Regions from separate parts of the Homo sapiens genome. Here regions 2 and 3 are each linked to region 1. The links are contacts of gene promoters, found by promoter capture Hi-C in human tissues and cell types (Jung and others, 2019). All regions are on one chromosome and are shown on one strand. The core of a region is centred on a gene start or on the middle of the fragment in contact, and the rest is flanking DNA. Distances in the headings are between cores, read along the strand shown.

Region 1 (4,332 bases), core at 535-3,034:
GACCTCCTGAGCCTTGTTCCATGCCACCTCTCTGCCTGCCTAGTCAGCTAGGAGCAGGACCAGCAAGTGGGCCCTGTGGCAGGCAACGCTTCTCAATAGGTCACACATCAGGACTCACTGTCTCCAAGATTGCAGGGTCAGGATCCAACCCAGGTGACAATGGAGTCAAAGGGTATTGAAGAAATGATGGCTGTGGAATGTTGCAGGAGCGGGGTCCTTGGTAGCAAAAAGTGGGGTACTCACATATACAGGTAGCTGAAAGTCCTGCCCCCTCTACCTGTAAGGCCACAGTACTAAAATGTCTAAGCGTGGGGCTAAGTCAGGATGCAGAGTTCATCAAAAAGTCCAGGAATAAGCAATGGCCCAGGCATGAGACATTTCAGTGAACAGCTGAAGGGACAACCTTAACCTGGCATCAGTTTACAATGTGTAAGATGGATATCTGGTAGCATCCTAGGACTGAGGACACATGACCACCTTCATGTCATCAGCCCTTGGGAGCTCAATCCCAATAATCAGGATGCTCCCCAAACATCTTAGGCCTGTCCTTCAGAAATCTACAACCGGCAACTGTCACCTGCTTGTTCTCTTCATTTACACTTCCAGCTTGTAACTATCCCCTGGGCATGACAAGGGCTAGAGGTCAGTACCTCTGGAAGTTAAGATTCCTTCACTTCTCCTGTTTCCACACTAAGCATCAAGGGATGCCCTCTGGTTCTAGCTTGCCAGAACTTGGTGGTGAGTCTGTGTCCATCCTATCCGTAATCACCACGGTCTCAGACCAAGTCACATGTTCCGTGTGTGTCCCTGTGAAATCTGCGATGACACAAATTAAAGACACCACCATGGATGTTCTGTAATACTGGAAAGAGGGTACCCTAGGGAGAAGGAGAGGCAGAACACTGCAGGGCAGAGGGTCCAGGGAATGGGAGGAGAGACACGGTAGGTGGAGGGGTAAACAAGGCACCGGGTGGGGGTGCCGCGGTGAAGGACACCTGGCACTAGGGAAGACAAGGCACCTCAGGGGAGCAGGGCATCCTCACGCCTGAGCTTCAGTATGTCCAGTTTGGAAAGGGGTGTCCCCATCAAAACTGGCAGCTGGGGGCTGGCCGCTCAGCGTCGTTCAGCCCAGGAGCGGAACAGCTCCTCCGCGAGCAGGTGACGGCCTCAGACGGCCCCCACATCGCCGTGCTGGTGGGCACGTAAGTAGGAGCGGAGGGGCGTACCATGTAGGTGAGACTGCCTGGCCCCAAAGCTAGGAACGATCAGGTTGGAGCGAAGGCCCGGCCAGCCTTCATCGCTCAGGAGAACCCCGAGCGCCGCTTACACCCCTCGGCCAGCCTCCAACAAAGACTCAGGGGAGGGCTGGATGACCCTGACGCCCACGGGGCCGAGCCTGCCCAAGACCACGACGCACGCGTGGCAGGTGCCGGCAGGTGGGCGGCAGAGCCTCTAGCCCCAGCCCAGCTGTGAACCCTACCGTGGCGCCGCAGCGGAACCGGGGCGCCCCGGGCGACCAGCTACACCTGCCTGCCCGCCCGCACCTGCCGGCCCGCACCTGCCGCACCTGCCTGCCCCCGCCGGCCCACACCTGCCTGCTGGCGGCGTTGCCAGGGGCCACCCCCAGGACCCCGCTCACCTCCGCCCGGCCTGGCCCGGCCCCTCGCCGTGGCGGCCCCCGGCCCGCGCCGCTCCATGCGCTCAGCCCGCCCTCCGCGCCGCCCGCCGCCCCGGGGCCGCCGCCACCCGCGCCATCGCGCCGCCGCCCGCTCCGAGGGCACAATGGAGCCGCCGCCGCGCCGCTCATGCATATGCATGACGCCGCGCAGCCGGCCCCGCCTCCCAGGCCAGAGCAGCAGAGCCCCGAGCCGGCGCTCGGGGCGGGGGCGGCCGCGAGCCCGAGCGGCCCAAAGCGGCAGGGTGGGGCCAGGGCCGCAGGTGGCTGGGCGGGCAGGAGACGCAGCCTGATCGCGACCTGCGCCCCCAGCCCCCTCCACACCTTTCTGAACGCGGCGTCGGCAGAGCCACTGCGCTCTTCCTGCTCGCAGTCCGCCGGGAGCGGGGCGGGGCCGGGCGGCGGAGGCGGGGCCAGGACGCCGGGGCGGGGCCGAGTGGAAGGCGGGGCCAAGGTGCCGGGGCGGGGTCGGGAGGAGGAGGCGGATCCAGAGAGCCGGGGTGGGGCCAGGGCTCGGGGCGGGCCCCGGCGGAGGAGGAAAGGAAGAGTGAGTCCTTGCCCTTCCCCCACCCGCCCCGCCCGCGCCCCGCCCGCGCCCCCCCTGCTTCCTGGGAGTCCATTGCTCTGGCCCGGCGGGCGGGGACACGACTGGGAGACAGAGAGACCCAGGGTGCCACTTTTGGGAGGGGATCTTATTAAAGGACTCCGGAAGCCCCTCGTTAAAGCAGAAAACTAAACTTAACAAGTTCGCTGTCCTCACTGCTCAGTTCTCTCTTCCCAGTGGTTCTCCTTCTGGAAAAAGTCACTATTGAGCTAGTCTAGCCTGATGGAATAGCCTCTCTGATCAGTTTCGATCTTTGAAATGCTATTATCAGCCTTTAAGTTATTCTTGACTTTTCCTACCGTAAGTTGAGGAAGACCACATTCTCTCAACTACCCATAATTAATTTTTCTTAATTGTGGTAAAATACACATAACGTAAAACTTACCATCTTAACTGTTTCCAAGTGTAGTTCTGTGGCACCAAGTACATTCACATTCTTGTGCAACCACCAACCGTCTCCAGGACTTTTTCATCTTCTCAAATGGAAACTCCATACCCAGTAAACACTAGCTCCCCATTCTTTCCTCCTCCTAGCCTTTGGCATTCACTATTCGTCTCTAAATTAGACTACTCTAAGGACATCGTATAAGTGGAATCATACATTATATGTCTTTTTGTGACAGTCTTACTTTAGTTAGCACAGTGTCCTCACTTCCATCCATGTTGTGGCATGTGTCAGAATTTCTTTCTTTCTTTCTTTCTTTCTTTCTTTCTTTCTTTCTTTCTTTCTTTCCTTTCTCTCTCTCTTTCTTTCTTTCTTTCTTTCCTTCCTTCTTTCCTTCCTTCTTCCCTCCCCTTCCCTTCCCTTCTTTTTTTTGACGGAGTCTCACTCTGTCGCCAGGCTGGAGTGCAGTGGTGCAATCTCGGCTCACTGCAACCTCCACCTCCCAGGTTCAAGCGATTCCCCTGCCTCAGCCTCCTGAGTAGCTGAGACTACAGGGGCACGCCACCACGCCTGGCTAATTTTTTTGTGTGTGTGTTTTAGTAGAGACGGGGTTCATCATGTTGGCCAGGATGGAATCGATCTCCTGACCTCGTGATCCGCCTGCCTGGGCCTCCCAAAGTGTTGGGATTACAGGCGTGAGCCACGGCGCCCAGCCCCTTCTTTCTTATGGCTGAATAATATTCCATTGTATGCATATTCCACATTTAAGTTATCCATTCATCTATCAATGGATACTCCACAATTAATTTTTGACATTGTTGAAATTTCTTCCCTGAAGGCCGCCTCTGAACTCTGTGCTCTATTTCTTTTGGGAATCATTCGTTCATTGAACAAATATGGCAGGCCTGCTGTACAACAGTCCCTGGTCTGGGGTCTGTGAACACTGGTCTGTCCCCAGGAACCAGGAGAATAAGGCCCCTCCATCCATACAGCAAGCATGTTAGAGGGGACAAACAGAAGGAAATGAGTTAACAGGTAACAGTGTGTCTGTCAGAAAGAGTGTTAGGAAGAAAACTAAATCAGGGCCAGAGAATGGGGAGGGAGTGATGAGGTATGAGGGACGGATTCTCTGTGGAGCTGGCCCTGAAGAAGAGACCCAAATGAAGGGGGAGGCAGGCACCAGGGGACCCTGACCATTCCTCTGTCTCGGAAGAGGCTGCATGTATGGGGGAGTTGCAGGCAGGTTTGTGGAGGATGCTGGAAGTGGCCACGCCAAGCATCCCAGGTGCCCCCAGGGCAGGCATCTCTCTCACCTCCTAACTGCTTCAATAATTCCTGCCCTGCTCCCCTGGGAAAGGCCACCTGGTGTCCACTCCTTTCTAGGGAATGTTTTCATTTTCTACTATATGATGAATTGTTAAGAAAGTCTTCCTTGAGGCCGGGCACAGTGGCTCACGCCTGTAATCCTAGCACTTTTGGAGGCCAAGATGGGTGGATCACCTGAGATCAGGAGTTCGAGACCAGCCTGGCCAACATGGTGAAACCCTGTCTCTACTAAAAAATACAAAAATTAGCCAGGCATGGTGGCGTGAAACCCTACTCTACTAAAAATACAAAAATTAGCCAGGTGTGGTGGCATGCACCTGTATTCCCAGCTATTCGGGAGGC
Region 2 (4,332 bases), core at 1,027-3,526, 680 kb after region 1:
GATCTCCTTTTCTTATCTGTCTACTGACAGCTGCTCCTGCATCTGTCCAGGATTGGTGGCTGTCAGTGGGAGAGACATGGGAAGATGCTCCCTCCACCTTCCTGGGACCACCTTGTTGACTCAGCAGCCTTCCTCGCCGCCCACCATGCTATGCCTTCCTGGATGGAGGCCCTGAGGGTGGCTTTTGGTTTTCCTACCCCTGTACCCCTCCAAGAAAGCTCTGGCACACTGCAGAGGCCAGCAACTACTTGTCAAATGAATCAAAGGAAAGTCAAGCCGGAGCCAAGGGTCAGAAGCAGGGGCTTGCTTCCCCGAAGTCCAGCCCTTCTTTGGGCTCCCCTTTCCTTTTTGACACCTCCTGCTTGGTTGGCAGTGAGGTCTCCCAGGTCTGGGGGATCCTTGCCACTGCTTCTGCACCCAGCCCTGGCTAAGCGGCCTTGTTCTCATCAAAGCTGCCGAGACCTGCAGGGTACTCAGCTTCTACTTCCACTCCTACACAGCTGCAAGTGACTTGAAAATATGACCATGCTTCAAAGTCTCCAGTGATTCCCACTGTGTTGGGACACAAAGCCCACCTCTCTGCCATGTGCCCCTGATGGTCGCTGCCCCAGCTTGTTTGCTTTCTGTAGGGCTTGGGTCTTTGCCAACCCCTCTACCTGAATTGCTCTCCCTGTAGGACTCATCATAGCTGAGGCCTTTGCACTCCGCTCTTTCCACTCACATGTCACCTCAGGGCTGTCCCCGGCCTCTCCTTTCCCATCTCTCCCAGTACATTATGGTCCTTCCTTCCTAGCATCTGGTGCTATCTACGGTAGGCATGTTTAGCTGCTGGTACGATCCCTCCTCCACTGAAATATGGGCTTCATGTCTGGCCCCTGTGGGACTGCCAGAGCCTGGTCCTCAGTCATGTTTAGTTGGGCTAGTGAATCAACTCTTGGTCAAAGGGACAAAAGCAGATGAGGAGATGTGGCTTCAATCAGGATCAGTGTGGAACAGTGAGACCTGCGCATGGCACTGCTAGGAGGGATGGGTTCCACCTGCCAGCCTTGGGGGTCCTGGCAGCCGACAGGACTTTGCCCACTGGGACTTGTCTGCCAACCTTTGGGTACAGAGCCTTAGCTTCACAGGCCCCAAGCCAGGAGCCCCTCCCCAGGTAGGCCAGCAGGGATGGAGGGAGGCCTGTCGAGGGTTTCTTGCACACTCAGATCCAAGTCTCAGAGTGGTGGTCCCTCTGCTGGCCTCTCACCTACCCGCTCCTGTTATCAGAAGTGTCGCAGGTGACAGTGTGGTCACTGGGGTGGGAGGAAATGGGAGGCCCTGGATGGGGCCCATGCCCAAGGGTCTGGCCATGGCCCCTTCATTAGGGCCCCAATTGTGACTTTATTGCTCATAGTCTCTTCCCTGCCTTGGTGGCTCTCATCCCCCAAACCTGAATGCAGAAGTCTTGGTCCTAGACTCAACTCCGTGCCACCCTTCAGCCTACGTTGTGGGTTCCTGCTAAGCTGAGCATTTACCTAACAATCAAGACTTCTGACAGTCCTCAGTCCTGCCCCCAAACCCCCTTGGATTTCTCTTTTTCAAGGTGGTTTCGGCTAGGAGAGTGAGCGTGGCTTGGGTGAGGGCAGATAGGGTGGGAGCATGGGGCATGTATGGATGAGACCTTGACAAAGGGACCCCGGAGGAAAGACAGGGGCCCTTTCCCCCTTTGTCCTGGAAACCCGGCTCAGCCCCAGCCCTTGCCCATTCTGCTGCTGCTGCCTGGTACCTTCCACAAGGCCAGACTCCTCTCCACAAAGCTGTGGTCTGCACCAGCTCCTCTGGCTCTCCTCCTCTGCCTGCTGAGGGCCGCCTCCTAGCCTGGCTGCCAATCACAGGAGAAAGGGGTTGGGATTTTGTTTGTGCCTCTGTCTGAGCAGAGAATGGCTGATAGGCCACTGAGCGTTGCCCTGGAGAGCCCCTCTGTCCCTGCTATCCCCATCTCCCCTGGCCCAGACTTCTGCCCTTCACGCCCATCCCTGACCAGCAGCCCCACTCAGTCTGGGCTCTGGGTGCCAGCTGGTTATAGACATGCCACCTGAACCCAGGCCAGGAGCTGGTGGATGCGTGGGGCTATTTTAAGCACAGCCTCTTGGCCTGCACACTCCCCTGGCCCCCAGCCCCCAGCAGCTCAGCTACTGGTCACCTGCCACCGCCTGGAATGCTGATTGGCAGTTGGCTGGGGTGGGTGGGGGCTGGGAAGACACTATTATAAAGCTGGGAGTGTTGGGAAGCAGCCGTCCCCGTCCAGAGTCCTCTGTGGTCCCTGCTGCCACCATGGCCACTCACCGCCTCGTGATGGTCCGGCACGGCGAGAGCACATGGAACCAGGAGAACCGTTTCTGTGGCTGGTTCGATGCAGAGCTGAGTGAAAAGGGGACCGAGGAGGCCAAGCGGGGAGCCAAGGCCATCAAGGATGCCAAGATGGAGTTTGACATCTGCTACACGTCAGTGCTGAAGCGGGCCATCCGCACCCTCTGGGCCATCCTGGACGGCACGGACCAGATGTGGCTGCCTGTGGTGCGCACTTGGCGCCTCAATGAGCGGCATTACGGGGGCCTCACAGGCCTCAACAAGGCAGAAACGGCCGCCAAGCACGGGGAGGAGCAGGTGAAGATCTGGAGGCGCTCCTTCGACATCCCGCCGCCCCCGATGGACGAGAAGCACCCCTACTACAACTCCATTAGCAAGGTGGGCTGCCTTTGCTGGGAAGGCCTCTGGGAAGCTGCAGAGTGGGGAGTCGGGTGGGGGCCCACTGGCTTGGGAGGGAAAGCAGCGTGCCTGTGTCCCCCAGGAGCGTCGGTACGCAGGCCTGAAGCCCGGGGAACTCCCCACCTGCGAGAGCCTCAAGGACACCATTGCCCGGGCCCTGCCCTTCTGGAACGAGGAGATTGTTCCCCAGATCAAGGCCGGCAAGCGAGTGCTCATTGCAGCCCACGGGAACAGCCTGCGGGGCATTGTCAAGCACCTGGAAGGTGAGGCCACCTTCAGGAGCCTGGGCAGGGTGGGTGGGCAGCAGCCCCAGCTGGCTTCTCATCTCAGCAAAGTCTCTCGCCCATGGACCAGGCTTTCTAGGCGTGGGGCTCCACATCATTCACTGAAAAAGGAGGGCTGAGAAGCCATTTTTTAGTTTTGTGAAATTTTCCCCATTTCTGTGTAACTGGGACACACTCCACAGGGGCTGACTGCACTCGAAGCTCGCTGTGTCCCGAGGTGGGGCAGGCTCCAAAGGTGGCATCTGCCAAGGGACACCCAGCTAGGAAACGGAAGGGCTGGGCTTAGAGCATCTGGCTCCAAATCCCAACTTACTGTGGGGCCCTGGACAAGCCACCTCCATCTCTGGGCCTCTCCCTTTTCCGGGGTGGTGGGGAGCTCCCCCTGGTACTGAATTCCTCTTGATGTAGGCTTGGACCCCTCGCAGGGCCCTCCCCCATCAGGTCCTCAGAATCCCTGCATGAGCTTCACCACCTATCTCCCTCTGGAGCCCCTCTCTGGGCAAAGGAAAGACCAATCAAAAGAGGGGTGCAGGACTATGGAGTGGCCAGACTCTGGGCTTGCAGCTGGGCTCCCACTGAAGAGCAAGGGCTGACAAATGGGCCCGGGATGCATGGGCGCAGTAAGGCCTCGCCCAGAGTGACTGGCACCTCCGCTCCGCCTCCCACCTTAGTATTCTGACACAAGGGCAGTCTAAATTAGCATCTGAATGACCTTAAAGCTTGTTGAGTCCTGGAAAGGCTAGAAGGGTGTGCCCCAGACCTCCTGCTCCTAGGGCCGTTGGGCAGTTGGCCAGAGCACCCAGACCGGCAGGCCCCGGAGACCCAGCCAGCCCCAAGCCTGCCCGCTCCAAACACGGACACCTGGCACCTGGCACTGGGGCCAGGCAGAGGGAAGGACCACCTGCCTCCTCTCCCTTCCGGAGACTTCATGCAGCCCCATGACCCTCCCACAGCCTGGTTTGGGGAAAGGGGACGCACTTTTGGTGGTGAATATGAGGGATTTCACTCTGACTCCCCAGAGAACATTTTCTTAAACCCTCCTGCACGGAGCAGGGGTGGAGTGGCGCGAACATCAAAGGTCGAGCTGCTATTCCCAGCTCAGGGGCTGCAGGAGGCAGGCAGGGTCAGGTTTCGACCAGGCTCGGCCTCCCTGTCCCTCCTCCAGCTCCATTCCGCACTTGCTCCTCTGTTCAGGATGTCTAGAATTTAGAGCACTTTAGAAACCAAAGGGTGCTGGGCACGGTGGCTCACTCCTGTAATCCCAGCACTTTGGGAGGCTGAGGCAGGCAGATCACCTGAG
Region 3 (4,332 bases), core at 611-3,110, 530 kb after region 1:
AGGATTTTCTTTATCTTCCCCTACAAATCAAGCCAAGGGAGGGGCACAGAATGGGGAACAGGACACAGGATCCTAAACTCCAAGGGGACTGTCCACCGATGAACACTCAGAGTGGACACCATCTTCCGTCCACGCTGTGCCCAGGACAGCTGTCCCCATCCATGAACACAGGGTAAACATCTGCCGGGCTCCGCACCAGTGGCTCCCTGGGCCATGGGACAGCGGCAGGGCTCACCACGGACAGCACGTGGCCCAGCAGCCGGCCACCCTGGCGTCCTGGGGCCTCCTCCCCTCCTCTCCCTCTCACCTTGTCACCTCCACGGAGCTGCCTGTCTGGGATAATTTGGGGATTTTTTTTCTGGGGGATAATTCTTTTGCATGACCCCTAAAGAGCAAGCCACACCGGTCTGCTAGCTAGGTGTCCGCGGTGTGGTGGTGGCGGCCGCTGGCCAGCGCTGCAAGGGGTCGGCTGCCCACGGTGCTGGCTGGCCTCCCCTCCTCTCTCTTTTTGCTGAGTTTCATTGTCTTTTCTTTCTGAGCCTTGTAAGTGTACAAAAATTATTCTTATTTTGTTCTGTCTCGGGAAACTGCAAATAAAAGAAAAACAGGACAAACTGCTTCAAGTGCAGCTGGGTGCTTTAGCTGGAATCCTGCCGACCTCCTGCGCCAAAATACAGACTCAAGCCCGGTCCCTGGCCAAGACCCTACTTGGGCCCCTCCTCCAATGAAAGGTAGTGCTATGGGAGCCCTGAGCTGGCCCTGACAGTCCTGAGCCCCTCTAGGGTGAACGGCTCACCCCAGGTAGGGCACTAGTCATAGATCATAGCTCTACCAGCTGTCTCCACCTCTTCCTCTGGTCCTCTGAAGTCTTCTGGGCCCAGCGCTGTCCACCCTGAATGCTGGAACTGAAACTGGATCCCAGCCCCCAACACCCCTGACCTCTCCATTCACCCCCGGTGGCCGCTAAGGATGTGGCCAGGGCAGCCTCTGGGCAGGAAGGAGCCCCAGGACCAAGACCTCTGGCTGTCCTGCTGTTTCCTTCCGCCCCTGCTACATGTATTGGCTATTCTGGATGCTGAGGACACACAGTGACCACAGAGCCGGGCTCCACCCCAGTGGATTATGCAGACAGATGGCACGCAGGCCTGTGTGGACATCAGCCTCGGGCACCAGACATAGGCAAGGCGCAAGGTGATACAGTAGGCAGCCACCATGGGGGCCAGGAGGCTCCAGCAGAGGCCACACAACCAGCCCAGAATCCAGGACAGAGAGCTGGAATGGAGACAGGGAAGCCAGATACCAGGCCAGACTGGCCAGGTGCTACAGGCCTGTGGGCCAGGCCAGGCTTGGGGACTTCGTCCTGGGTGTGAAGGAGACAGGCACCCCTGAGGCCTTCCCTCTGCATCTCCAGCCCAAGCTAAGCGCAAACTCTTAGGTTGGAGTAAGGAGTAACCCCCTGCCAAGTTTCTCCTGTCCTCAGGCTCCACCCACCACCTATGCTGCCTGGCCCCATGGGGCACACGCTCAGGCCCAGCCTGGGAAAGCAACTGCACCTGCCTGTGCTATGCTGGCCCTTCTCAGCCTCAATGCCCTCCTCCCTCCCCGACGCACCCTCGTGGCCCCCGCTGGGCCCCCTGATGCACCCTCATGTCTCCATGGCAACCTGCTCAGAGTGTGGCCCTGCCCTTGGCTCCCCTCCACACCTGTGTCCCAGGCAGTGCCACGGCACTTTCCTAAACAGAAGGATGGGCTTCAAAACAGTCCCAGACACTAAACACACCTGCATTTTGGGTCCAAGTAACTTCTGACAAGACGAGTGCCCCTACACACTCTCAGTCCTATCCACTATGGGCAAGGAGCCTGAAGGATCCCCCAGAACTGGCTAAAGCCCTCAGTCTCCTCCTCCACCCTGAGCACCTTCACGCGGCAGAGTGGCCCTGGATGTCAGCTTCTTGCTCCCCATGGTCTGCACCTGGACAGGTGCTCTCAGGTGTGTGGGTGGGCAGGTGGCAGGTCCCAAGAGCCAGGTGCAAAGAATCTAGGCCAGTGCCCACGAGTGCTGCAGTGTCTGTCCCCAGCATGGTATCTAGGGCTCCACTTGCCTATCAGCTGTAATCGGAGGAGGCTTTCCAGGCCAGGCCTCCCCCAGGAAGGCTGCAGGCACTGCGGATCGTGCGCCCTCACATGCATTATTCCTGAGGCCCTTCTGCAGATGCCATCAGGGCAGCAACTCTGATGAGGTATTAGGGCACAGCACACAGGGCTAAGCCACCCTGTACTGGGCCAAGCGCTACAGGCAAAAAGGACACCACCGACGGGCATTTCATTCATCGCTTTTATTTTTATATATTTTTGAGAGGGAGCCTCACTCTGTCGCCCAGGCTGGAGTGCAGTGGCGCGATCTTGGCTCACTGCAACTTCTCCCTCCTGGGTTCAAGTGATTCTCCTGCCTCAGCCTCCCGAGTAGCTGAGATTACAGGTGCCCGCCACCATGCCCAGCTAACTTTTGTATTTTAGTAGACATGGGGTTTCACCATGTTGGTCAGGCTGGTCTCGAACTCCCGACCTCAAATGATCTGCCTACCTCAGCCTCCCAAAGTGCTGGGATTACAGGCATGAGCCACTGCACCCGGCCCATTCATCACTTTTAAATAGCACCCTCTGAACAAAGCTCCCTGGGCCACATGACCCTAAGGGTTACCCCATCCCACCCCAACCCAGGTCTGGCAGGTCCTCAGAACAGGAAAAGCTGAGCACTGCCCAAGGCTGCTTGCTGGGCCAGTCAGAGAGGTCTCTGCCTTCCAGGATCAGAAGTACAGGCTGAAAGCAGCCTTGGGCCCGCCTCCCTGGGAGGCTACAGAGGCTTCAGAGGGTTCCCTGAACTCAAAACCAGATGTGAGACTTGAATTTGACTTACCCCTGGTTCACCTCCCAACCAAAGCAGGGGTCAGCTTTGGCTCCTCCAGGAACCAGGAAGCTTCCAGGTACCCTGTGGAGCCCCCTCTGCTCCTGAAAAGTTGCCACCTGTGCTTGGTGGGATGCCAGGTGGTCTCAGATTGACCCTGGGGTCAGCGGTGAGGGACAGGAAGCCTACAGCGGGATCAGGATGGGGATGGGGCCTCCTGTCCCATGGCTCTGCAGCTATGAGGCAGCTTTCCTAGGGTGGGTCTCCTGGCTGCAGCTAAGACCAGGCAACAGGATTCAGCAATGACAGGGCTTCTTCTACTCCAGGGCTCCCTCACCTGGTTAACAGCAAAAAAGAAAATACAGTTCCTGCTAGCAAGGTCTATAGAAAGGAGGTGAAGGAGTCAGGCCTGCAGCTACCTCTCCTGGACAGGAGCTGGTCAGGATAACTTGGACCCTTGCATGCGGCAGGCCCACAGGCACACAGCATGAGGCCACTCTCTCCCCCGGGGGAAGGGCTTGGTGAAGAAAGGATTCCCCTGAAGCACAAAGAAAGCACAGGACCACTGTGAAATTTCAAGACAACTTTATCCAGACAGGCGCCTCTCAAATAGAACACAGGGAAGTTAGGCAGCAGTTACTAAAATACAGTCTCGCCAAATGATTTACAACAGAACACAACAGGAGCAGGGGATCTGTGGGTGGGGCTGGGCTGGGCCCTCTATCTCACAGGGCCTGAGTCAAGCCAGCCCGCCCTGCAAGGCAGGGGCTGACCTGCAAGCGGAGATCTCACTTCCTCTTACCCCAAATTCATACCTCCATTTTCCCCGCCCCCATCTCTCCCCAGGGTCCTCAAGTGGGAAAGGGAGAGGTAGCATCCCTCGGATCCAGGCCCACTCCACTCCGTCTCCGGCACCAGTGGGCAGGCTGAGTCTGGGCCTCAAGGGGCCCTGGGCTTAGGGTATCTATGGCAGTAGGAAAATGACATGGACAGGCTCTTCAGGGGTAGGCTAAAGTCCTCTGGCCAGCAGTACCCAGAGAAAATGGGCAGCAGCAGGTAAACCAGCCAGGAGGTGGAGTCCTCTGAACCCACAGCAGACCCCACCCTCCTGCCCAGCCCCTGCCCACATTGGGGGTCAGGACCACTGAGACTCTGGTCAGGACAGTGGGTGCTCTCAGCAGTGTGGCAAGCTCAGAGCAGAGCTCCCAAGGACCATACCACACTGGTTCAAAACCCATAGGTGACACCATCCCAGCAGAAGCTTCCATGGGTGCTGGATCCCAGGGCTGCATCCTGAGCACAGGTGGGCAGACTGGAACATAACACTAGGACCCAAGGGATCCAGAACATTTTAGGCCCATCTCCTGGGCTGCTCCAGCCTGTTGCCATGACTTGGGCAGTGAGTGGGCCTCCTGCCAGGTGGCAGG

The links. The method cuts DNA at HindIII sites, captures the fragments that hold promoters and counts their contacts. A contact is called where the count stands out against the background at its distance.
Region 2: a contact is called between the fragment with the promoter of PGAM2 here and the fragment with the promoter of ZMIZ2 in region 1, in 1 of the 25 tissues and cell types used here (dorsolateral prefrontal cortex).
Region 3: a contact is called between a fragment that was not itself captured here and the fragment with the promoter of ZMIZ2 in region 1, in 1 of the 25 tissues and cell types used here (dorsolateral prefrontal cortex).

The regions. Positions count from the first base shown.
Region 1 is chr7:44,746,299-44,750,630 of GRCh38, reverse strand. It overlaps ZMIZ2 (zinc finger MIZ-type containing 2), which reads right to left and starts at 1,784. Exons shown (of 19, transcript NM_031449.4): 1 at 1,640-1,784. RefSeq lists silencers at 1,480-1,529, 1,540-1,649, 1,760-2,289. The HindIII fragment of the contact is 31,122 bases long and covers 1-4,332 here.
Region 2 is chr7:44,063,511-44,067,842 of GRCh38, reverse strand. It overlaps PGAM2 (phosphoglycerate mutase 2), which reads left to right and starts at 2,276. Exons shown (of 3, transcript NM_000290.4): 1 at 2,276-2,727; 2 at 2,831-3,011. The coding sequence starts at 2,314. DBNL (drebrin like) reads right to left here. Exons shown (of 13, transcript NM_001014436.3): 13 at 1-4,332. RefSeq lists a silencer at 1,260-1,329 and enhancers at 2,510-2,579, 2,640-2,689, 2,880-2,939, 3,584-3,693. The HindIII fragment of the contact is 10,392 bases long and covers 1-4,332 here.
Region 3 is chr7:44,213,436-44,217,767 of GRCh38, reverse strand. It overlaps CAMK2B (calcium/calmodulin dependent protein kinase II beta), which reads left to right. Exons shown (of 24, transcript NM_001220.5): 24 at 1-614. It overlaps YKT6 (YKT6 vesicular SNARE protein), which reads right to left. Exons shown (of 7, transcript NM_006555.4): 7 at 3,474-4,332. Among named protein-coding and RNA genes, the nearest start is that of YKT6, 15 kb to the right of the region's middle. RefSeq lists enhancers at 1-302, 2,712-3,627. The HindIII fragment of the contact is 6,682 bases long and covers 1-4,332 here.